2 separate regions of the Homo sapiens genome follow, and region 2 is linked to region 1. Evidence: promoter capture Hi-C in 16 types of primary human blood cells and fetal thymus (Javierre and others, 2016). All regions are on one chromosome and are shown on one strand. The core of a region is centred on a gene start or on the middle of the fragment in contact, and the rest is flanking DNA. Distances in the headings are between cores, read along the strand shown. Region 1 holds the start of POU4F1 (POU class 4 homeobox 1). Region 2 overlaps LOC105370273 (a long non-coding RNA gene).

What was found. The method cuts DNA at HindIII sites, captures the fragments that hold promoters and counts their contacts. A CHiCAGO score of 5 or more calls a contact.
Region 2: a contact is called between a fragment that was not itself captured here and the fragment with the promoter of POU4F1 in region 1, in 1 of 17 cell types (M2 macrophages). The highest score is 5.9, in M2 macrophages.

The regions. Positions count from the first base shown.
Region 1 is chr13:78,602,224-78,608,999 of GRCh38, reverse strand. POU4F1 (POU class 4 homeobox 1) reads left to right here and starts at 5,448. Exons shown (of 2, transcript NM_006237.4): 1 at 5,448-5,796; 2 at 6,449-6,776. The coding sequence starts at 5,674. OBI1-AS1 (OBI1 antisense RNA 1) reads right to left here. Exons shown (of 6, transcript NR_047001.1): 4 at 3,556-3,699; 5 at 1,790-2,028. RefSeq lists enhancers at 659-1,518, 1,519-2,380 and a silencer at 5,498-5,657. The HindIII fragment of the contact is 4,390 bases long and covers 4,249-6,776 here.
Region 2 is chr13:78,966,633-78,973,408 of GRCh38, reverse strand. It overlaps LOC105370273 (a long non-coding RNA gene), which reads left to right. Exons shown (of 5, transcript XR_942108.4): 3 at 6,687-6,776. Among named protein-coding and RNA genes, the nearest start is that of LINC00331, 130 kb to the right of the region's middle. The HindIII fragment of the contact is 2,778 bases long and covers 2,514-5,291 here.

The DNA.
Region 1 (6,776 bases), core at 4,199-6,698:
GCGTTGGAGCCGGGTGACAGGACCCAGCTCCGCACTCTCGGGTTTGGACTCGCGTCCTTGCGGTTTTCTCCACAGCTTCCAGACCCTTTTGGGGATCTTGCTCCTGGAGGCAGAGCGGAGCCTGCGGAGAGCGACAGGCACCCGCTTCCAGGTCCTCGGAGCCGCGCTTGTGGGGGCTGGGGGTCCCCTGCTGCCCATTGACTACCTCCACCCCGAGCGTCCGTGCGTTCTGGTGGCAGCAGACGGCAGGCGGCTATCCGCGGAGCAGGAAGGCGACAGAACTTCCTATGTCCTTGCGTGGGGTCATGGGCAGGCGTGTCTGTTGTGGAGTTTCGTTTGTTTGTTGTTGTTCTAACCCAGGACCTGGAAGCCCCTTCTCTGATCAGCGCCTTCTTCCAGCTTTGAATGCGGCAGGGCCCAGGCGGGGCGGGGACGTCTCTGCTCCTCCTGGGACCTAAATCACAGGAGTCCTTGGCCACGTTCAGCCATAAGACATTATTCACTTGGGCTGCGAAACTCCTGGCAACTATTAGGCAGGGGAGGCCCAGCCCCTGTTGGGACAGAGACGTAGTAGTCATGTGTCACCCGTAGGGCTTTCACAAGGTAGGTGGGTTTCATGTCCACGGAGAGATCAGGGTGGAGATATGTACATAGGTCTATATCTATAGATATAACGCCAAGAGTGACAATAGTCAGCAGTGAACTTTCCTGGGACGCATCATCTGGGTCTCTAGGTCATCAACGACATCTCAAGGTGGTCTGGTTAACGTCCAGGAAAATGTCCCCAAGGGAAGTTGCATTTAAATTAAACGACCAGACGAAAGAAAACTATATTTCCCACCAGTTTCCTTGAGAACCTCCTCTGCCGGTCCCAGCTGGAGCCCAGTCTGAATGCCTTAGAAGCAGAGATGACGACGGGCCCCAGTACCGCCAACCACTCCGGGCCTTAGGGACCAGAGGAGGAGAGAGGCCGAGGGAGCTCCGCAGTGCCAAGCAGAAAGGGAGGACGACGGTCTCCGGGAAATCTCCGAGCCTAAGCGACCCGGAACGTGGCCCGGAGAACTCCAACCTCAGCTCTGGGCTGGGTCCCGCGGGCCTCGGAGGGCAGGCCACTGCCCGGGATGGCCCCCAGTGAGGCCAGCGAGGAGCCCAGTAGCTATCGCCTGGGAGGTAGCGGACCAAGATGCGCGACACTGGGATCAAAGCAGCTCAGGCATGACCCTGGGAAGGCGGCCCAGAGGGGAAGCGAAAGTTCCACCGTCCTTTCTCCATTCCTTCCTCCATTCCACCCTTCAGTGTCAGAGCCCAGGGCGCCGGGACAGCCCAAGGGCAGCCCCTGTTCTGAGACCCGAAGATCTTACCCATATCCTGCTCCCCTGCTGTCTGCCCTTTCACATGTGCTTAAAACAACCTAAGTGGCCTCTAAAGCCAGCCGACCCTGGGCCCTGGGGGCTTCTCCTGCATGCAGGGCGCTGGCTGCGTGGTGAAATGTGCCTCCTTTCAAACTAAACAATTGCCTACGCACAATGTAGCTCCCCGAGTCTGCGAGAAACACAGCTCCGGCTTCGGCCACCAGAACCCAAGGTGGCCGGGCCTGCAAGTGGGGCCCGGTTTCCAGAAGGAGCGAGGGGCCCGGCCCCCCTCCCCTGTATACCCACTACCGCCACGCACTTATGTCGAAGTCCCTCAGACCCGATCCTGAGTCCCTAAACCCCAACAGACAACTCGGGTTCAACCCCTCGGAGGTGAGAAGGTGGGGCGAGTAGTGGCTGCGGAGTCAAATACTAACTTTCTCCGCACCCGGTCGGAAGGAGGATGTCAGTGCCCAGGTGGGCAGCAGCTATCAGGCGCGCTCTCCAAAAGTGGAGGATGGGAAGTTGGCGGTTCAGGTCAAAGGTGAGGAGCGTTCACCCCAGACAGTGCGGATCCTGGCACAAAACCTCTCCCGCCAGTCCTCACGCCAACCAACGAAGGTCTGCTCCCTTAGGTCGGGAAAAGGGCGCTGCCAAAGGAAACGGGAAGTGAGGCCTGCCAAAGGAGGAGGAGAAAATTAATTAATGAGGGAAAGAAATGTGTCTCTGATCCACATGATAGACTCCCTGTCCCTGGGGGCGGAAATTCCTTGGAAATCAATAGTTGTGCATTCATTATCCTTCTCTTGATAAAATGCAAAGCTATGAGATGAGGAGGAGGAGGAGATCTGTGTTGGTCATTAAATAAGAAGGAAAAAAAATTGCCCAGGAATCTATGCCAAGGCTCAGACCCCATGTGGGTATCATTAGCACAGGCAGGGGCCAACGAGTTACAGCAGTTGCCAAACCAGGAAAACAAAACAGTGACATATGGGTGAGCTGAGCCCAAGCCCACCACCTTTTCCTTTTACGCATCAGGAGGAAAGTAGGGAGAGGCTTGATATGGTCCAGGGAACTGCCTGCAGATGTGCCAGCATGCCCTATTCTTTAGCCTGGGCTGAGAACCAACGAGGATGAGGCATGATAACTGTCCAAGCATCACCCGCTCCATATTTCTATACACATCCCTCTCATCACACCTGTTATACCTGTGTCATAGATGCCTTTTATCCGTGGCTTCCCCACGCACATACACTGTCACCTCCTGCAGGGCAGGTACTCATATTGTATACCTCATTTTATCTCCAGTGTCTTGTACTGGGCCAGACTACCGCTCAGCAAGAATTTGAGGAAGGAAGATAAGGTAGCAAGTTAATGAGGGCGGAGTGAAATAATTGGCTCCTGAAAAAGAACAGGCTGGAATAAAAATTTACAGCTCTGCCTGGGGAAAACACACCCCTCCTTTTTAAGGAGAATGTAGACCCCCCCATCCCCCCACCCAGGGATCTTCCTGCAATCTCCAACCAGCCCTGGATTGTTGAACAGCCCCTAGGCCACCACCCCTCCCCCAGGCTACCCGAAACTGGCCTCTCTTCCTTCCTACACACGTGTTTTTTGGTGGGGTACTTTTCCTGTGACAAACTCTGCACTAAGTGCTATAGTGAAGATGGATGTATCCTAGATGGGCTTCCTATCCATGGTGGGAGGGGGAGGGAGGATTGTACCCATAGCCCTCATGTTTCTGGTCCCATCAAAACACCCAATACCCCAAGCAAAGATCTGGCCTCACCCCAAGGTGGGGTATTCCTGTTGTCGAAAGAGAGGTGAACAGGGAAGGAAATCTTGGTGGGACTAACTCCTAACTTCAGGCTAAGGTGGCATCTCTCCGCTGGGTTTAATGGAAGCCTCCCAGGGTTGGAGGGTGAACCGAGGTGCCTTTTGGGTACTCAGGAGCTCACCTGGCTCTCAGAGGCCCCACCCGGCCGCAAACCTGTACTGTTTACCTTTCTGTTGCTCCTGTACCCTTCAGGGTCCCTAAAGACCAGCGCTTCCTTGAGAGGGGAGGGGCAGGTTCCAGGCCCTCACCCTCTGTGGGGGCCTTTTCTTTCCCGTCAAGAGAGAGCGCAGGGAACGGCCACCAGGGGTGTCAGGAAGGACTAGGTTAAGCCCGGACTCCCGGTGTGATGACTACCGTAGGACTCACTCTTTCCCTCTAGCGACGTCCTGCTCATCGTCCACTCCCCGTTGAGATAAAGTTGCATTTAGCGCTCCCAGGGGACTGCGTAATGGATGGAACCAGCTCCTTCTCTCACCAGCAAGTGAACATCCTTCTCACTTCCCTCTGGAGCTAGAAGGAAGGGAGGGGGTGGGGGGGAACATGAAAAGAAAGAAAGAAAAAGCCATGGTGACGCCTGTGGGCTCTTCTTGGAATCTGAGTAGGTGAGTGGGTATGCTAAACACACATGCATTTGTGCAGAGGAAAGATAAAATCCACGGGAACGCAAATTTAGGTTTATAGAAATGAGATCTGCTCTTTGGTGGAAATACAGACTTCCTTGGTGTGGGAGAGAACAGAAAGATTATCTGATTTCTGCTTTCCATAAGCAGCCCCTTGCTGCTCTCCAGCTCTCTTACCGCAGATGTGATAACATCTGGGCTGTTAGGTTATTATCACCGCGAGCAAGTGCTCCTTCCCTGGGGACTTTGGCACCTGAACTGTGGCTCCCCTGGGAGGCTCTTGATCTGCTACCACATAAGGGCCATATAACAGGTTGGCTAATTGATTTATTCTTTTTAGGTCTTAATTTCACAATAATTTTTTAAAAATTTAAAAACTGGACCAGAGCTTGTCCCCGTTCTTTCAAATTGGCTTGATTTAATATTTTTGAATCAAGCTTTCCTGTAAGTTAGTTTGATCTGTCTCCTATTGAAAAAAATATATATAAGCAGGCAGAGATATGAGGCAAAAAGCCAAAAAGATGGAAGGGAAAAGAAAGTTCTCTTTTCAACATCTTATTCCCTTTTCTCTGAAGCAGTTTTCCTGGAGTTCCCAGCATAAAGTGTGTGTGTGTGTGTGTGTGTGTGTGTGTGTGTGTGTACGCTGAGGGGAGGAAGGATCCCAACTACACCCTGTTAACTGTTTTTTCCTTTTGATTACTAGAAGCCTTAGATCACCCGGAGCTCGTTTGAAACGTGGGTTTGTACACGGTTGAAGGAGACAAACAATAAGAGAAATGCACAATTTCATTTCAACAGCTTTTCCCGAGTAGAAAGCACACGCTCCTTGTGGCTCCTAAGTGGCTGTCACTGGCGGTGCCTGACACAGTTATATTCACAACAACAACAAAAAAGTATGCGGAGGAAATTAAATTATATGGAAATCAATAGCGTCTGACTGCTTCAAACAAATGTCTGTCACCGCGATTATTCTCCAGGAACCTATTTATAAACCTTTAAAGAAACAGGTTCTTGCAGCAAAAGACAGCACCTTCTGCATTTCTGTGTTGTTATTTATACTGTATACAGAGGAATGCGCGGGCATAATTTAACGTAGAAATGTCCAGCTGTATACATTATACAACAGCTTGTTAGGCATCCCGAAGAGGAGGAATGCCTAAGTAATGCTCATATATTCAAGGCTTGCTATCAGGGAGAAGAAACATACACACATACACACACACGCACGCACACACACACACACACACACACATAGAGGGGCGTGCGCGCATCTCGTCTTTTTTATTCTAAAAGGTGCCCACCCTTAGACAATAGCTGGACCTTCTGATCTTTCCAGACCACGGTGGGAAAGGTGAGGCGGGCAGTGCGCATGCCCGGGTAGCTACAGGTGCATCACCTGCGCTGTCCTTGCTGGTGGTCACTATAAGAGCGGCTCCCACGCGCTGGTCGCGGCCGGACGAGCGCGCGCGCGCGCAGACGCACGGGGCCGCCGAGAAGGAGAGCGCGCGTCAGACAGACGGAGACAGCTGATGCCTGTCAGCGCGGTGGGGCCGCGAGCTCTCGCGAGAGCTCCCCGGGACGGCCGCGAGAAGTGGGGCTCAGGTGTTAGAGGAGTGCATCCCGTCGGCGCGCGGGGCTAGAGCTGTCGGAGAAGCGGGACCGCGAGGCCGGCGCGCGGCGCTCTGCGCGGTCAGAGGGAGCGCCTGGCAGCAGCAGGAGCAGCAGCAGCAGCCCGCGGCGGGGCCGCCGCCAGCCGCCGCGACCGCCGCGGCTGCAGCCTCCGAAGGGAGGCCGGGTGAGCCGGCGTACGCACTTTCCCGCGGACTTTCGGAGTGTTTGTGGATATACATGCCAAGCCGCCACGATGATGTCCATGAACAGCAAGCAGCCTCACTTTGCCATGCATCCCACCCTCCCTGAGCACAAGTACCCGTCGCTGCACTCCAGCTCCGAGGCCATCCGGCGGGCCTGCCTGCCCACGCCGCCGGTAAGCGCCCCACGCCCGCGGCCCCGGCCCGCGCGCCCGCCCCTCCCCGTCTCCGAAACGCTGCATGTCGGGGGCTGGTGTGTGCAGGTCCCGGTGCGGGGAACTGCGGGCAGGGGGTGTAGAGCAGTCCCGCAGCGAGGCACGTTTTGTCCGGCGGCCCTTAATGTCGTGTTCCTGTCTGCCTCTGCCTCCGCGTCAGGCGCCTGCGATCGGAGTAGGGAGCGCTGGGGCCAGGACTCTCGACTTCCCTCTACTTTCTCTGTTAATTTCACGCCTCAGAAAGGCAGTCTCTGTGCGTGCTCGGGTGTGTGACACGGGTCCCCAGCTGCGAGTTACATTTCCATTTCTTCTTTTCCCTCTTTTTCGTCTCCCACGCCCGTTTCCGGAATGTGTTCTTGTGTCCCCCTTTCTCCCTACTTCTGTCCCCCTCTCCACGCTCCCATCCCTTCTCGTCTGCCCCCTCCCTGGTCGTCAATGTGCCCCCTCTCCGTCTTTCCCGCTCTCCACTGCCCCCAAACCCGTTGTTATTTTGGTTGCTTTGTGTTTGCCCTTCGCATGCTGTGCTTTCCGGCCTGTGTGTGTGTTTCTTCTGTTGTTTTGTTTTGCTCTTTTGGTTTTGTGGTTTTTTTGGTTTGGTTTGTGTCGCCTGCAGCTGCAGAGCAACCTCTTCGCCAGCCTGGACGAGACGCTGCTGGCGCGGGCCGAGGCGCTGGCGGCCGTGGACATCGCCGTGTCCCAGGGCAAGAGCCATCCTTTCAAGCCGGACGCCACGTACCACACGATGAACAGCGTGCCGTGCACGTCCACTTCCACGGTGCCTCTGGCGCACCACCACCACCACCACCACCACCACCAGGCGCTCGAACCCGGCGATCTGCTGGACCACATCTCCTCGCCGTCGCTCGCGCTCATGGCCGGCGCGGGCGGCGCGGGCGCGGCGGCCGGCGGCGGCGGCGCCCACGACGGCCCGGGGGGCGGTG
Region 2 (6,776 bases), core at 2,653-5,152, 370 kb before region 1:
TTCTAACTCCACACACTTAAGACACAAGAAACATGCAGAGATAAAAAAATAAAAGTGAATAAGATTGAATATTAGGATGATGAGAAAATTACTGGAGATCATTTGCATGAATAGGGCAGAAATACATTTAATTATGAAGCATGGGAGGGAAAAGAGAAGAGTTAGGAACAAAAGAGAAGAAGATACAGAGGCAGACTGAGACACTGAAGGCTTTAATGTAAGTAATTTTCCAGAGTCATACCCCAAAATTTACTGAGACCCTGGACTTCACAAGGCATCTGCATTAAAAAGTGACTAGGTTACCACTTTGCTCTCTTGTTATTTAAATCCTTACAGTTAAGCTGAACTCTGAGTAGATTTTTCAGAGTAGCAGAGAGGGTGCAAAGTATGCTCTGGTTTGAAGCAGCCATACCAAAGCTACCTCACCCTGGAGGCGAGAAGAAGCTAGTTCAGGGCTTCCCTGGCCAGAGGGTCCAGCTATGTCAACATTCATTTTCATCTTTGGTCTGAAAATCAGAAGACTGCTCCATCCTGAAACCACTCACCTGAAAATTGTTCCCAAGAGGCCATCATGTTTAGGTGCTATTCTGATGGCTTATGAGCTGTACATGCCATTTGTGGCAAACTGTGGTAAACTAATGAGAACTGGACCCATGGTGTCCATTTCAAAGATGGCGGCCATTACTAAGCTCCAGCAGCTGCTTCCATGTTGAAAGGTGAACTCAGCGTTGCCTAATCTCCTAATTGCTGTTCTGTTTGTTTGTTAAATATTGAGCTAGGATTCTGGATTTCGAAAAATGATAAGTCTGTCAATTCTTAAATTTGGCAATTATTTGAAAATATTAAAGCCCTGTGCTGGGCAATTTTTCGTGGGTTGAACAGAATATGCCTGCTGGTCCCAAAGACTGCAATTTGAGACTTCTGTTCTATAATGTTGAGTGTGACTTAACGGGCTCTATTCTAAAAATAATGCATGAGACTCTGAACAACCAGAGGTGGAAAGATGGAAAAAACACATTTTCTGCCCTTAGGGAGTTTCATGTCTTGTGTAGGAGAAAGACCTTTAAGAGGGCAGGTCACAGTACAGCAGTGTGGTATTATTATAGAAAACAGAACAAAGTACTGTCTAATGTAAGGAGGTAGTTTTGTCCCAGGGAATAAAGAGAGGCTTAATGAGGGAGGTGTCACTAGAGCTGGTGTGTTCCGTGATTCCCAAACATAAAGGACCCTACAAAGTTTGGTTTGCTTCCTGAGGGAAAGAGGTCATTTGAACTGAAGCCAAAAGCCAACTGTTTTCTGATCAATGGCAGTTTTCTTAGGGGAGAAAAATAGTTCAATCCTCTAAGTAAAAACAGGAATTAAGGAATAATAGACCAAAAAAAAAAAAAAGAAAAAAGAAATGGACAGTGTTGATATGACGGATAATAATAATAATAGAAAATATAAAAGAAAAAGAAGCTCCAGGACGCTGAACATGTGCATCAGAAGAAATTTAGAAAATGACAAGTGAGCTTATAATGACTTTTAGAAATGCCTTAAATCGCTGGGATTATTTGACATTTGGTTCCTTGCAGAGGAAAGGTGAGCATTGTGGTTAATGAAGGGTGACTCAGAGTCAACTTCCTACTTTTTCTAGCAAGGAGGAACTGATGATCAAAAATACATGTCTGTATAAATATATGTATAAATTATATATAAAATACATGTCTGTATAAATATACACACACACATATATACACACACACACATATACACACACACACACATATACATGTAAAATACCTATATAGCTTTCTCGCAGGATATAGACTGTATACAATTAGTGGTTCATTGCAAACTCTAAATGCATAGTAAGCATAATTATAATGCTATCATGTTTCCCATATTGAGTTATTTGGGGGATAAACTTTTTACTTAATGTCTTACTTATGAAACCCCAATAAAATATCTGTGGCATGTATCCTTTTGATCACTCTACAAGTCTTCCAGAAGGTATATTATCCCTGACTGGATCAGCCTGTGTGCTACACACTCAGCAGAGAGAAAAGAAGAGTTATGAATAAAAGTGGTTACATTATTCTTGCACACAATTAGCTCATAATTATCCTTCAAAGCAAATATGATTACCCTTTTCATTCCACACATAATTCTTATGTTGAATATCGCCAAATTGGGACTTTGAATTCCATTTCAAGGCTTCCCTTGATGCTAATTTTAACCTGAATTCATTTAGATAAAAATGTCCGTGGGACAAGAAAGGGACATGCAGCATGATTTGCCCTGAACATCACTCTTCTAGAAAAGAAATAATACCAGTACCCAAGGACATTATACTGGTTAGGATAGGCTAAGTTATGTTGCAGTAACAAATAATCCTAAGACATCAGTGCCTTAATATAACAAAAGTTTATTTCTCACATTTTATATGACAAATTTTTCATTCACACATCCTTCCTTAATCACTGCAGCAAGAGGAAGGGGATGGGTCAAATTATGAACTATTTTTTAAAGCTTCTGTCCAGAGGTCATCCAATCCTTTCTATTTCATTAACTGAATCAAGTCATGCCCACCTAACTTTGAAATGGGTAAGGAAGTGTAATCCTACAATACACCTGAAAAGAGAGAAGAACTGTAATATTTATGAACAATTCTGGGGGTTATTATAGGTATAATCCTTTGTGAGAGAAATTTTCTCTTTAGATTATTTCAGAGTATAAGTTAATAGCTACCAGCCAATGAGATGAGCTGCTTGACTCACGTCTTTACTCATGACTCAAGAGGACACACGCATGACTTAGAAGTACAAAGATGAAAAGATTATCCTTTTTCTCAAGAATCTTGCAGGCCAGTGATGAGGAAAGAGGTAATGATATGCATGTGAGGAGAGGCAATGTCTCAAAATAATTTCTGAGTTGGAGGGAAGCACCAGAAGCAATGGGATTATGGGAAAGAGGAAAGACTTAAGAGATATAGAGAGGATAGAACTTAAAGCACTTGATGACCAATTAGTTACTGGGCACAATACAAAAGTCTTTGATGCTTCCTAGACTTCTGATTTGGTTAATTGTAAAGACATTAGTATATTATTCAAGAAAGGAATGGCAGAGTCAAGGACAATCTTGAGCAATAGAAAGGAAAATATAGGAATTTAATTTTATCCAAGTCCTTAAGTACTGATGGGCGGATTTAAACAGTGGCGTCCAGTAGATGTCTAAAAGCACAGAGGTCTGGGCTAACAGCTATTTATGTTTAGTTGAACAACTATTTATTGAGTGACCACTGTATGAAGTACTTTGCAAGGTGCTTTGGCTACAAAGTTAGATAAAATATAACCCATGCCACTGAAGAATTACGTTTAGTGGAAGTACAACAGATATCAATCAGGTAATGATCCTGCAAGGTGTCCTCTATTATAAGATGCGCAGGGTAGTCTGGGAGACCAGTAGAGAGGCCTCTAACTGAGCTTAGAAGGGTGATTGTCTTTATTATTCAAGGATGTTTTCTTTTTTCCTTTTTTTTTTTTTTTTTTTTTTTTTTTGAGATGGAGTCTCGCTCTGTCACCCAGGCTGGAGTGCAGTGGCGCGATCTCGGCTCACTGCAAGCTCTGCCTCCTGGGTTCAAGCCATTCTCCTGCCTCAGCCTCCCGAGTAGCTGGGACTACAGGTGCCCACCACCACGCCTGGCTAGTTTTTTTTTTTTTATTTTTAGTAGAGACAGGGTCTCACTGTGTTAGCCAGGATGGGCTCAGTCTCCTGACCTCGTGATCTGCCCGCCTCAGTCTCCCAAAGAGCTGGGATTACAGGCATGAGCCACCATGCCCGGTCTATTCAAAGATGTTTTCTTAAAGGTGATTTCTGAGCTGAGTGTGGAAAGTTGGATAGAAGATCTTTGGATACTATAAAGTATGGTAATTTGCAGTTTCTGGAGTTATAATGTCTGGTTTAGGTTTTGGGCTTATTATTTTCTTTTGTAAGTCACTTAAACTTTTCTGTTCCTTGGTTTTCTCATCTCTAAAATGGTGATTATAGTAGTTCTACAATACCTATCTCAACGTAGTTCTGAGGATTAAATGCAAGGGTCCCTATCAAGACAAAGCTATTGCTAGACATAGTAAGTGCTCAATAAACATCAACTATTATAATTATTATTTGTAGAGGCAGGATGGGGGAAGACTATTACAGACAACAGATATAAAACAAATGTTTATGAAATCATAACCACAGGGTTATTTTGGATAATTATAAGTAGTTTACTACTGTTAGAGTTTAAAACGTGAGGCAGGGAGTGGCAAGAAAGGAGCCTGGAAGGACTGCCAGAGAGGAAATAACACAGAGCTAGGAATTATTTCATAGAGAGTAGCAGCTAATTATAAGTTTGAAGAAAATAATAGATAATCATATTTCTATTGCTAAGAACTCTACATAGGAACTGTTTGGAATTGTAGGGGAAAAAGAAAGGAAGCTCATAGTAGGGGTATATTGCAATTTTGTAGGTCAGAAATGGATTAAGATTGAATTAAACAATAAGAGTACAACAGACAGAAACAGTGACTTGAGAAATACTTAGGAAGTAAAACCAGCAAATCTATGTGACAAGATAGGGCCAGGGTAAGAAAGAGGGATGATTTTATCAAGTTTTTTCCTAGGGTCTCAGGAGCATGATAGTACCACAAACTGTGTATTTTATAATGCAAAAAGAGAATCAGGTTTAGGGGTGTTAGTGGTGTATTTTTAAGACTTTTAAGTGGAAATACTCAAATGAGGATTTGAAAATTTTTAGACCTACAGATAAATAATTTAAATGTCAATAGCATATAGCCTTTAAGCCAAATTAGGAGAGTAAGTAATATTCAGGAGATTGTGTTGAAAAGGAAGACCAGTAGGCTGATGATAAAACTCTGGTGAACACCAACAATTAATGGGTGGGGAAAGCAAGAGGAACCCATATGGGAAATGTAGAAAAATGGCCAAAAGGATTTTCATTTCTTAAAAAGAAAATTTTGTTTACATGGGAGCTAAGGGAGTAGCCATTCACTAATTTAAATAATAAACGTATTGAACATCTAATTCTACCCAGTACTGTGGCCACCAGAAACATATTCAGAAAAGAATATTAATAATGTGAACTAAAAATTGTCCATTGCCTTTAGCCATAAAGAGTTTCACTGACCAACTGAATTAGAGCAACTTCTGTGGATTGTTGGAAGCAAAAGCATAAAAGCCATAGTATAAAGAATGAATGGTAGGTATAGAGAAAAAGATAGTAGGAGTAGATAAGTTGTGTATAAGCTTACATATGAAAATATGTAGTAAAATGAGAAGAAATCAATGACAAAAATGAGATCTTGGTGGAAGAAGAAAAAACAGTGAGGAGGACAGAGAAGGATCTACCAGATTCAGATTGAAAATGTGAGAGGAGTTGCACAGTAGAAGGCAAATTGTGAGAATTTAAAAAAATAAGTTATAAGATTTATTTCAGATAGTTGCAATATTTTTTACTTATGATTTCTATTTCTCTATTGATAACTTTCATATTTCTACTCAAGAATGTTTGCCTTTATCTGATGGAACATACTTATAATAGATGCTTTAAAGTCTTTGATAATTCTAACATCTGGATCATCTCAAGATTGGCACTTATTGATAATCTTTCCCTTTGGAATTTGTCACAATTTTTGAGTACTTTGTAAATTGAATACTTTTGTATTGCAACCTAGACATTTTAAATATGTTGTTTACATTCTAGGTTCTATTAAAATCCTCAGGAAAATATACTTTTTTTTTTTTTTTTTTGGTGGTTGTGGTGGTTTGCTTGGCATTCACCAAGTTAGGTTCAGATTGCAATTTCTGTCTCACTTTATGGAAATGATTGTTCCAATGTCAGTTCAATTAGCGAAGCCTTTGATATGCCATTTGGGGTCCACTGTGAGCATGTACCACTCAGAGGTTAGTGTAAGACCTAGGTGATATTTTAAAATTGAGGTTCCACTATCAAAACTTTTGCTGTGCACTTTTGGATCTATCCTGCACAAGTACACTTCGAGAGTAAACCCAGAAGCTAAACTTGTTTATTCGCAGAATTAGGGGACTCCTTTCTCCAAATCTCTCATCTCCAGGATTTCCCCCACACTTTTCAGTTGGAAGGGACCTCTTTCCCTGATCTTCAGGCCAAAAATATGGAATTTAACTTGGGGCTAAATTCCTTGCTGCCTTTGCATACTGAATAACTCCAATGATTGTGGCCATCTCAGGCAAGAACAAAGACAGAAAATGGGACTCATCCTAATACTCTCCTGATTGAAGAGTCCCCTATAACCTATTCATCAAGCCAGAAGGATATGGTTTCTATTGGAGTGTAAGCTTTATAGCACTGCCCACAATATGGACACCACTGGAAGTATCATTTCCACTCTTATCAAGCCATGAGAGAAAAAAATAAAGGATGATTCCCCTCATGTTCTCTTGCTCATAGAGGCCTATATCTTAGCCTTCTAGAGATAAAGACAGAATTATCTCAACATGTTAGATGCCCATAGTGATGTTGTGTCAGGTTCACTGGAAGCCTGTCTTGGCTCAAGTCCATGATAGAAAAAAGAGAAAATAAAAGGGAAATTAACTTACATATAAATCATTTTTAAATGCCTTGACATCCTTCCCCAATGTACCTGCTTTTGTTTATTTTTCAGAGTCCTCAAGTAGTTGCTTTTTGTACTTTGAATAAAGACTTTAGTCATAGTAGGAGAGATAGACTGTAATGGACTTACTTCACGATGGCT